Regions from separate parts of the Homo sapiens genome. Here region 1 is linked to region 2. The links are contacts of gene promoters, found by promoter capture Hi-C in human tissues and cell types (Jung and others, 2019). All regions are on one chromosome and are shown on one strand. The core of a region is centred on a gene start or on the middle of the fragment in contact, and the rest is flanking DNA. Distances in the headings are between cores, read along the strand shown.

Region 1 (5,325 bases), core at 2,565-5,064, 44 kb after region 2:
CGACAGAGCGAGACTCTGTCTCAAAACAAAACAAAAAAAACAAACAAAAATTATATATGTATATTTTTTAATGGGTATTTTATTTAAATAAAAATACTGAATGTAGTTTAGCATTTTCTTGATGAATCAGGCTCATTGTAATGACAGATTGCATTGTTTTTTATAATAATCATTCTCTGCCAGTGTTTTTCATTTTTGTGCCCTACTAATTTGATTCTAGGTCCTGAAACAGTCATTTTCTCTGTTACTGTATCTGTCAATAATAGCCACTCCTTCCCTTTCTAGTTTGGTTTAACTGCTGTGGGTTGAGAATGTAGATTAGCAGGTTTTTGTTTATAATTAAATATTACATAAGAATCTATTTTTTCTGTATGAACCAAAGAGTCAAGATTAAGATTTTAATGTTGAATACTGTAATATTTATTTAGTTTGAAATTTCAGATAAATGGGTTATTTATTGAATCAGTTGCCACCTTAGAAATATGAAATGAGTGTCATCTGGGCAGCTGACCAGTTAGGTTTATAGTATAGAATGTGCATAAAACACATTAGGTTATAACTCCAGTCATAACAAATACATTTGCTGTCATAAAGTGTTCTAATGTTCACTGCAGTACTGATCTTAAATTACTAACGCTAATGACTTTGTGTTATCTTGCTCCCCTCCACCGCCAAGAACTCTAGCTCACAATTAATCAAGAAAGTGGCAGTGACACCTGTTAAAAAATTGGCACAAATAGGAACTACTGTGGTAACCACTGTTCCGAAGCCTTCCTCAGTACAAGTAAGTTGTGCTGGCCATTCGTGCACTTGTTGTTCTCTTAACTTTTAAAAAAATCATTTAGCTATCTCCTGTTAGATATGTAAGTTACTGTGTGACATTGAAGATAGCAATTCAGTAATATATGATGGCACTTATCAAACTGGGAACTGTTGGAGGTATGGGAAACAAGATAAACATGGTGTACATTCTTGGAATACCAGTTTTACTTCAGTGTATTAAGTTAATACAAATCTGCCTAATAGCCATGTGTTGCAGTATCTGGAAGCAGGTTCTGAGATAAAATTTGGGATATGTAGGGATAAATACCCATGGAAGGAAAGGAGAGTAGATAAGGGTTTAAACTAGATGCAGGCCCAATAAAGCCTTAGCCATCTTAGTGGAGAACTTTGGAGGATATATGGCCGGTCAGCATTGTCCCACTATGGGTTAACATGGTTGGCTGGGCCTTAATTCCTACTCTCTGTTCAGTCACTGGATGTGGACTTTCCTGGGAAAGTTACCTTTGGGCAAGGTGATCCTCTGCAGCTGAGGGAAGCCTGATGGAACTTATAAATGGAGGCTGTCTAATATCATTCCTAGCAGCTAGCTAGGACAGTACATATCACTCCTTGTCATGGTTCATCACAGGCTACTCCTTGCATCACTTGTATGTGTTTCCTCATACATGTTGGAGATCAGCTGTTCTGGGATTCTCATGGTTTTCGTCTTTGGGGAAACAAAGAGGAGGCTAATACGATGAACTACAGTCCCCACTGCTGCAGCTGGTTTCTGGTGGCACCTGATATTAATTATTTCCCTCTTCCACTGTGCCTTCCTAGATTCCCTTCCCCTCAACTACCAACTATACTGGTCTTTGTTAACTTAAATGATAACGACCAGACCCTCATCCCTGAGGGATCTGTGGTCTTAATAACCATGTTCATTTGAGGTCAGGGTTGCTACGGCTTGTCTATTTATCATCACAATTGGGCAAGGAAATACAAGGAGGCATTTAAGTGAATCACCTGAATCATGTGGATTTGCCACACATACTTCTTTTTGCCTCCATTGCGTAATAGCAACCCTACCTCCTCCAGATGATGGGAGTCGATTACTCTTCCTAAGATAATTACTCCTGTCTTTCCTGCTGGATCATGGTTACAAGGAACCATAGTGCAGCCATAGTGTCTATTTTATTTATTTTTTATTTTGTTTTGTTTTATTTTATTTTATTTTTGAAGACAGAGTCTCACTCTATCACCTAGGCTGGAGCACTGTGGTGCAATCTTGGCTCACTGCAACCCCTACTCCCTGGGTTCCAGTGATTCTCCTGCCTCAGCCTCCCAAGTAGCTGGGATTACAGGTGTGTGCCACCATGCCCAGCTGATTTTTTGTATTTTTAGTAGGGATGGGGTTTCACCATGTTGGCCAGGCTGGTCTCGAACTCTTGACCAAGTAATCCGCCTACCTCAGCCTCCCAAAGTCCTGGGATTACAGGCATGAGCCACCGCACCCGACTCTTAGTGTCTGTTCTTAGTGTCTATTTACAGGAACTCTTGCTTTGTCCTCTGGTAGAGGTGTTTGCTTCCTGTGGGCAGAAATGGGAAACACAAAGTCCTCCAGTGAGTGTTTGTTGTGAGTGATGGTAAGTGGGGGCCATTCATGCTTCTTCTCCTTGATTCCTTGATCTATGGGTTTGTCCTGTTGGGGACATAGTACTATATGGAAATTTTTGATTCAATGAGTATGCTGAGTCTTGGAGGATGGAATCCCATACTCATAGAGTATTGCCTCTATGTTTGTACTTCACCTGTACCTCTTGCTGGCTGTTCTAATATTTTACTAGACTCCTAGTTTCCGAGTCAAGACATATGTGATGAAACCAGTGGATCTGATAGTCCTGGGACTATGCATCTTCTTGGAGCCTGCTACCTGGAATCCCATGCTAGTAGATCAGACCTTCTTTTGGTGTTCCAAACTTGAACCATACTGCTCACGTTCTTTTCATCTAACAGAAATGATGAGCAGTGAATCTGATTTTAAACGTAATATTTTTCTACTAATACCATTTGTTGTCACTTAACATGCTTGACACTTTTTTAGGTGCCTTACATTCATCTCATTTCATCCTTGTGACTATACTATAAGGAAGTGTTATCTCTATTTTATATGAGAGGTTAAGAAGCTTGCTTGATTTCTGCTAGTATGTGGCAGAGTGAGGATTTGAGCCTTTATCTGACTCTGGAAACTGTTCTTAATGACCTATGTACTGATTATCTCAAAACCTACTGTATTTTTTTCCTTAGGATAAATTTTAAGGAGATTATTGGGCCAAAGAATATAAATTTAGGCCTATTGATAGCTACTATCATATTGTTTTATGAAGAAGTTAACCACTTTAGACTATCAGTACTTCGAGTATATCAGTTTTTCATTGGATATAGTTCTTAAAGATTGAGTACATAAATAACACCACAGGTTAAAAAAATATATTGTGGAGAGAAAACATACTTAGCAACATGATCTTAGATACTTAAGACTGCCATTTGCACATTATGGCTCTTCAGGACACAGAGAGCAAATTATGTTGTGCTGGGATAACTGAAGGAACTCCATTACACTACTTCTTCAGGGCCCTTTTGGGAGCCAGTTTAGTGGTAAAGTGAGTTTCTTGGATATTACTTCTTAGAGTGTATTAGGGATTCTCTACATCCATGGGCTTTAATTTGTCCCCTGCCAGCTACAGCCACAATTCTATTTCTGTGCTCTCTGAATATTCGTTGAAGTCTTAATAGTTCTAGAACATGAAAGCTTGTGTTCATTTACTTAGTAATCATAGCCAGTGATCACTAATTATATTTGTAGTTTTTAAAAAAATTACTTTATTTAAAAAATAGAGATGAGGTCTTACTCTGTTGCCCAGGCTGTTCTTGAACTCCTGGGGCTCAAGCAAATCCTCCCGCCTCTGCCTTGCAAAATGCTGGGATTATAGGCATCAGCCATTGCACCCAGCCTTTATTAGTAGTTTTTATAAAAGAGACAACCTGGAGCCTGTGAATTCAGGTGAAGGGGAAAATCTTTACTAAGCTTAAACTAAAACTTAGAGTTTCTTGCAACTATGAATGTAGGCTTCAAACTATGGAACCATTTTGAGGGGGAAAATCTTTACTAAGCTTAAACTAAAACTTAGAATTTCTTTCAGCTACAAATGTAGGCTTCAAACTACAGAACCATGGAGTATTACATTGTGTTAGTACATATCTGTGACTTTGTCACAATAGAAATAATTGAAATTTGTATGTTTCCTCGTGTTTGTAGTTATTTTAAAATGCTCATGTTAATCTGTCATTGATATTTTTGTGTGGACCATTTATTTTTCTTAGCTAATTTAGGTTGATGCATATTTTAAGTTGGGCTACTCCTTAGTGGTAGCCTAGAACAGTGGAAATTAGTAAAGAATGAAGTTAATGATATCTGTCCACTTTAAGGGATAAGCATCTCAGTTTTAGGCATGGAAATAAGGAGCTAGAACTTAAAAATGAGAGAAGATACAACTCCTTGTACTTGATTGTCAGACTGTAAATGCAAATGTGTGTGTTAAGAAATTTTGAAAGTATTTTCCTATTAGGCTTAGTCTGATAAATATAACACAAGAACTAGTTAGAAATCTTGTGTTCACTTTTACCTTGTATTTGATGAAGATGTAGTTTGGCCCATTGTTAGATTGGAATCTAATGTGCAAATGACTAGTATTTCTAATTAAATGTGAATAAACCTAAAGCAATTGCTGTTTCAGACAGGTACAGAAAATGACCCTCCTTGAAATGCTATTTCATCTTCTAAATTTCCATACAACTCATTTTATTGGCTCTGTGTAGAATTGGTTTTCACACATTTATTTCACATATACTTCAGTCCGTTTTCCTCCTGTCCTCAAGACATGCCTAGTCAGTCAGTGCAGCCTTGAAAAGCATTGAAGTTACCATTGGCTGGTCTGTTGAGTCAAAGGCGGAGTTGTGATTGAGTTTAAGACACTTTGGGCCAGGCATGGTGAGTCACACCTGTAATCCCAGCACTTTGGGAGGCCTAGGCAGGTGGATCACCTGAGGTCAGGAGTTTGAGACCAGCTTGGCCAACATGTTGAAACCCTGTCTCTACTAAACATTCAAAAATGAGCCGGGTGGTGTGGTGGGGGGCGGCTCTCATCCCAGCTACTCAGGAGGCTGAGGCAGGAGAATCACTTGAACCCAGGAGGCGGAGATTGCAGTGAGCCGAGATCGCACCACTGCACTCCAGCCTGGTGGACAGAGCCAGACTCCGTCTCAAAAAAAAAAAAAAAAAGACACTTTTAAGGGTGAGGGGGAATGGAATTTATTAGGCGAAAAGAAAAAAAAAACTCAGCAAAGCCAGAGGGGTTCCCGTTAGCAGGCCCCCATCTCACAAATTGAATCTCGGGTCACCACACAGGAACAGGAGAGGCCAGGCTCCTCCCCCTTGCAAAGGGCCTGATCTTCCTGAGGCTCCACCCCTCCTCCTCCCAGTGGGCAGGCGCGTGGGGGATT
Region 2 (5,185 bases), core at 2,031-4,530:
ACTGTAGGAAAATTAGAAAATGCAGAGAGACAAAAACTATCACTTGGAATGTCTCTAAATAGAAATATCTTCCATTAATAGTTTTGTGTGTAATCTAATTTTTTATGAGTATCTGTTTATTGGTTAATAATTGTTTTTTTCTTTTGAGATGGAGTCTTGCTCTGTCACCTAGGCTGGAGTGCAGTGGGACGATCTCAGCTCACTGCAACCTCTGTCTTTCAGGTTCAAGCGATTCTCCTACCTCAGCCTCCCAATTAGATGGGATTACAGGTGTGTACCACCAAGCCCAGCTAATTTTTGTATTTTTAATAGAGAGGGGGTTTCGCCATGTTGGTCAGGCTGGTCTCAAACTCCTGGCCTCAAGCAATCCTCCTGCTTGAGGCCTCTCAAAGTGCTAGGATTATAGGCAGGAACCACCACATCAGGCATTTGCATATTATAAACAATTATAAGAAAAATGGGTGGCTCACGCCTGTAATCCCAGCACTTTGGGAGTCTGAGACAGGAGGATCACTTGAGTCCAAGAGTTTGAAATCAGCCTTGGCAACATATTGCCGAAATTACTTTTGCACCAACCTAACAGTTAGACCGTTGTCTTTGCAAAACAAACAAACAAGCAAACAAACAAAATTAGCCAGGCATGGTGGTACAGCCTGTGGTCCCCAGCTACTTGGGAGGCTAAGGTGAAAGGATTTCTTGAGCCCAGGAGGTTGAAGCTGCAAGTGAGCCATGATGGCCTCACTGAACTACTCTGGGTGACAGAGACAGGGATACCCTGTTCTCCCTTGCACGACCTCACCCCCACCCAGCCCTGCCCTGCCGAAACACACACACACACACACACACACACACACACACACATACACCAGAGAGAGAGAGAGAGAGGGAAATGCATGAGGTTAACTTTATGAAAAAATATAGTTCCCCAACCAAGTCTCTTTGTAATTTGATGGTGGAGGTTAATTGCCTATCTAAACAAAGTGTGTGAATTGATGGTGGGGGTCTAGTGGAAATTTAGAAAGGGAGAGTTCTATAAACAAACTTTGATGCTTCCGTACCCAAGTATCTATTGAAACATACTATATGGAGGGAAAAAAATCGGGGATAATTTGGCCAGTTAGTGAAGAACATATCTAAGATTCAAATACACTACACCATTTTGCTTCACTGAAAATGTTGCATAGCTTCATTCAATTCATTACCTTAGCAAGTATTTATTAAATGCCTTTTATGCTCAAGGCATTTTGCCAAGGGCACTGTGGGATACATGATTAATCAGACGTTTTGGAGTAATGGAAAGAGATGTACTTTGGCATCATACTGATGAGTTTGAATTCCAGCTTCTTGGAAACATTACTCTTTTAACTGCAGTTTTTAAGTTTGTAAAATGAAGCAGTTAGAAAAAGGAAATGCATCTCTTGGTGACCAGCACACAGGAGGTGCTCAATAAATTGAGTTTTTCTCTCCCCAACTCCACTTTGAGGCATTTGCTAGAAGGTAAGTGATCAGGGAATTCACCATAGAAAGGGAGGGTGATTGGTTTAGGTCATGAGATGGATTTAGACTGGTCAAGAAGTGAGAGACAGTAAAGGTAGTAAGTGTGTGGACTTTACTAGATCTTGTGAGTAGATCTTATCTAAACGTGCCGGCACACGTTTACAGAGAGGGGGAAAAGCAGGAGCTGTAACCATCAGGTTGCCTGCTATTTTAGTCCACTCGGGCTTCTATAATGAAATATCATAAACTGGGTAGCTTATAAAAAGAGAAATTCATGTCCCATAATTCCAGAGGTTGGGAAGTTCAAGATCAAGGCAGATGTGGTATCTGATGAGAGTCTACTTTCTAGACAGCAGTCTTTTTACCATAACCTCACTTGCTGGAAGGGGTGAGGGATCTTTCTGAGGTTTCTTTTTTTAAAAAAATTATTTATTTAATGTATTTAACTAACAAATAATAATTGTATGTATTTATGAGGTATCATGTTACATTTGTATGTGTCGTGAAATAATTAAATCAAGTTAACATATTCATCACTTTAACATGATTTGTCCTGAATGGAATCCCATTCATGAGGGCTCCACCCTTATGATCTAATCACCTTTCAAAGGCCCAACCTTCTAATATTATCAACTCCAGCTTTAGCATTTTAACACTCAGTTGGGGGTATAATCCTAGCACTTTGGGAGGCCCAGGCGGGAGCTCAGGAATTGGAGACCAGCCTGGACAATATAACGAGATCCCGTTTTTGCTAGGCATAGTGCCGCTCCCCTGTGGTTCCAGCTACTCGGGAATCTGAGGTAGGAGGGTAGGATGATCACTTGAGCCCAGGAGGTGGAGGCTGCAATGAGCCAATGGTGCCACTGCACTCCAGCCTGGGTGACAGAGTTAGATCCTGTTTCCAAAACAAAACAAAACAAAACAAAACAAAACAAAACACCACAACATTCAGATCATAGCATCTGCCTACTTGTAAAATCGCCTTTCAGTGCAGTGTTGGTTCCTACAAACATACAATATAATGACTTTAGCTTGAAATTAAGGCATCTTCTCTGACTGCATTACAAACAGGCAAGTTTTTTCATATCGATTCACTCAACACCTTTTATTTATCCAGATAATATCTAGGATCACGCTTAATATCTAAGTGCTAGAATCTAATTATATAGATATCAAAAGGCATTAAGTTTTTCAGAAGACAGACATACAATTTTAATGTTTAGAGGTGATAGAGACACCTATAGCAGCACCAAAGAAGAAACGATTTTCCATTTAAGATTTTAGGCAGTTTAACTCTAAAATATGAAAATAGGCACATCTCACAGACTATAAAACTATACGCCATTTTAATTTTTACAATGTCAATTCTAACTGCGAATTTTAGCAACGCTTCAGTGTGAAGACAGCAGAGAAAAACACTGAAAATGCGTGATTGAATTCTTATTGAGTCACTCTTCTCGGAAATCAGTCCTCCCCATTTTCTCCTTAAAAAATAGAATCCTGGAGATAGTCTAGTGCTGGCTTTTCGAGGAACACACTACAGGGGACACAAGGAGAGGAACACGGATGCCGCAGTTTTCCAAGTGCAGCTTGCCCCTCCCACGTGATAGGTTTCTGGCATCGCCCCTCCTTGCTGGCGATTCTGGGGAAGATTTTAACGCTCCCTGGAGCCGTCCCCAGTGACGTCACGGGCGCGGCTCCGCTCCTTGGCCAATCACGCGGCCGGATCCCGGGGAAACCCGGGGCGGTGGCGGCGGCCTGGGCGCGTGCGCGAGGTCTCCGCGTGGCTATATAAACATGGCTGGCGTGGCCGCGCGGCGGGGCCGTGCCAATCGCGCGTAGGGGGCTGTGGGCACTCGGGGTTCGTAGTTTTGAAATTTCTGGCGGGGGAGCAGCTGCGCAGTTAGGCTCGAGGTGTGAGCGACGACCTTCCGGGAGCCGCAAGTCCAGGCTCCCCCGCAGCGGGACCCGAGCCTGAGGCGCAGGGCTGAGGCAGCGCACGTGTGAGCGCCGCTGAGGAAGCTGCGAGAGGTCGGGCGGGTGTCGCTCCGGGGGCAGCCCAGGCTCGCGCGGACGAGAGGAAGGTCCGGGACGCGCGTGTCCTGCCGTGCAGCGGGCGCCCGTCACTGACTTCGCTGCTGCGGCCCCCGCGCCTCTCCCCAGCGATGCTGTGGAACCCGAACCGCACCGGAGTCGGCTGCCGCGCGCCAAGCCTCCCCTCACCTCTGCTCCCGGAACCGCAGCGCCAAAGCTGCCGCTGAGCCCCTGGGGGATGCCCGCCGGCCTCACCGAACCCGCCGGCGCCGCTCCCCCGGCTGCTGTGAGCGCCTCGGGGACCGTGACCATGGCCCCGGCCGGGGCGCTGCCGGTGCGGGTGGAGAGCACTCCGGTGGCCCTGGGCGCCGTGACTAAGGCTCCTGTCAGCGTCTGCGTGGAGCCCACGGCGTCCCAGCCCCTGCGGTCCCCCGTGGGGACCCTGGTGACCAAAGTGGCTCCGGTCAGCGCCCCTCCTAAAGTCAGCAGCGGCCCTAGGCTGCCTGCTCCTCAGATAGTCGCCGTGAAAGCCCCCAACACCACGACAATCCAGTTTCCTGCTAATTTGCAGCTTCCTCCAGGTATGTTGATAACCCTTTCCAGCCTTGTCTGTCGGTCCAGCTGGCGGCGACGGGAAAATTCGCAGCTCCAGATTGCTCCTAAAAAAACTGAGCCACGGGAACATTTCATAATCTTGACTTTACAGTTAACATATTCTTTTTGTGTCATTACTACATAGTTTTTCTTTTCATATTTAAGGAAAGAATCTTTTCACCTAAGTGATACAGTAAAAAGCTACATCAGCGTATTCGGGGGGGCTTTCAGGCACTGGCTCTTAGGTGGAGGAGATAATATAGCCGAAGTTAATTTCCATGTGGAGGATGGACCGGTTTATACCGTGGATTTCCATACGCTTAGATTATGTAGAAGTGCGTTGTACTTATTTTATTAATTATGAATGAATGAATGAACGAATGAGGTATGGTTTCGCTCTGTCGCCCAGTCTGGAGTGCAGTGACACGATCATGGCTCACCGACGTCGAACTCCTGGGCCCAATCGATCCTCCCGCCTCGGCCTCCCAAAGTGCTGGGATTACAGGCGTGAGCCACCGCGTACGGCCTAACAGTGAAGTTCTTGTGTATTACAACTGAAAGAGATTTTTAAATTTAACCAAGTCAGAATCGGTTTACTGCTTTCTAGTACCAAGTACGAATAATGCTGTTCCTGCACAATCTTTAAATGTCTTATGATTCTAACTTTCAATTAGCAGAACCCCTGACTGGGAACACGTGCCACAGTTGACAAACAGATCAGTCATGCAATTGTTACAGTTGCAATTGAAGCCATGTGTCAACGCTACTGTTAATGAGTCTTTCACTACTTTCTATCCTAGGGCTTTTTACTCTATTGGGCTGTATTTCATGGTTTGTATAAAGGTTTTGCTTTGTGATAATTTACATATTGTAAATATGCTGAATGATTTTGGGGTGTTCAGCCTTTCTTTACTGAAAGTCTCTTGGAGTTTGCTTTCTGTTAATTTTGTTTAGCAGTAATTGGAACTCTGAACTGCAAAGATGGTAAAAAAGGGGAAGCATTGATTCAAAAGATTCTATATCCCCTAATAAAATGACAGGGACCCTTTTTGTATCTAAT

The links. The method cuts DNA at HindIII sites, captures the fragments that hold promoters and counts their contacts. A contact is called where the count stands out against the background at its distance.
Region 1: a contact is called between a fragment that was not itself captured here and the fragment with the promoter of TAF4B in region 2, in 5 of the 25 tissues and cell types used here (bladder, mesenchymal stem cells, mesendoderm cells and 2 more).

Annotation. Positions count from the first base shown.
Region 1 is chr18:26,266,840-26,272,164 of GRCh38, forward strand. TAF4B (TATA-box binding protein associated factor 4b) reads left to right here. Exons shown (of 15, transcript NM_005640.3): 3 at 677-784. Among named protein-coding and RNA genes, the nearest start is that of TAF4B, 43 kb to the left of the region's middle. The HindIII fragment of the contact is 4,978 bases long and covers 1,326-5,325 here.
Region 2 is chr18:26,223,165-26,228,349 of GRCh38, forward strand. It overlaps TAF4B (TATA-box binding protein associated factor 4b), which reads left to right and starts at 3,281. Exons shown (of 15, transcript NM_005640.3): 1 at 3,281-4,112. The coding sequence starts at 3,770. RefSeq lists enhancers at 2,911-2,980, 3,011-3,110 and a silencer at 3,761-3,920. The HindIII fragment of the contact is 12,633 bases long and covers 1-5,185 here.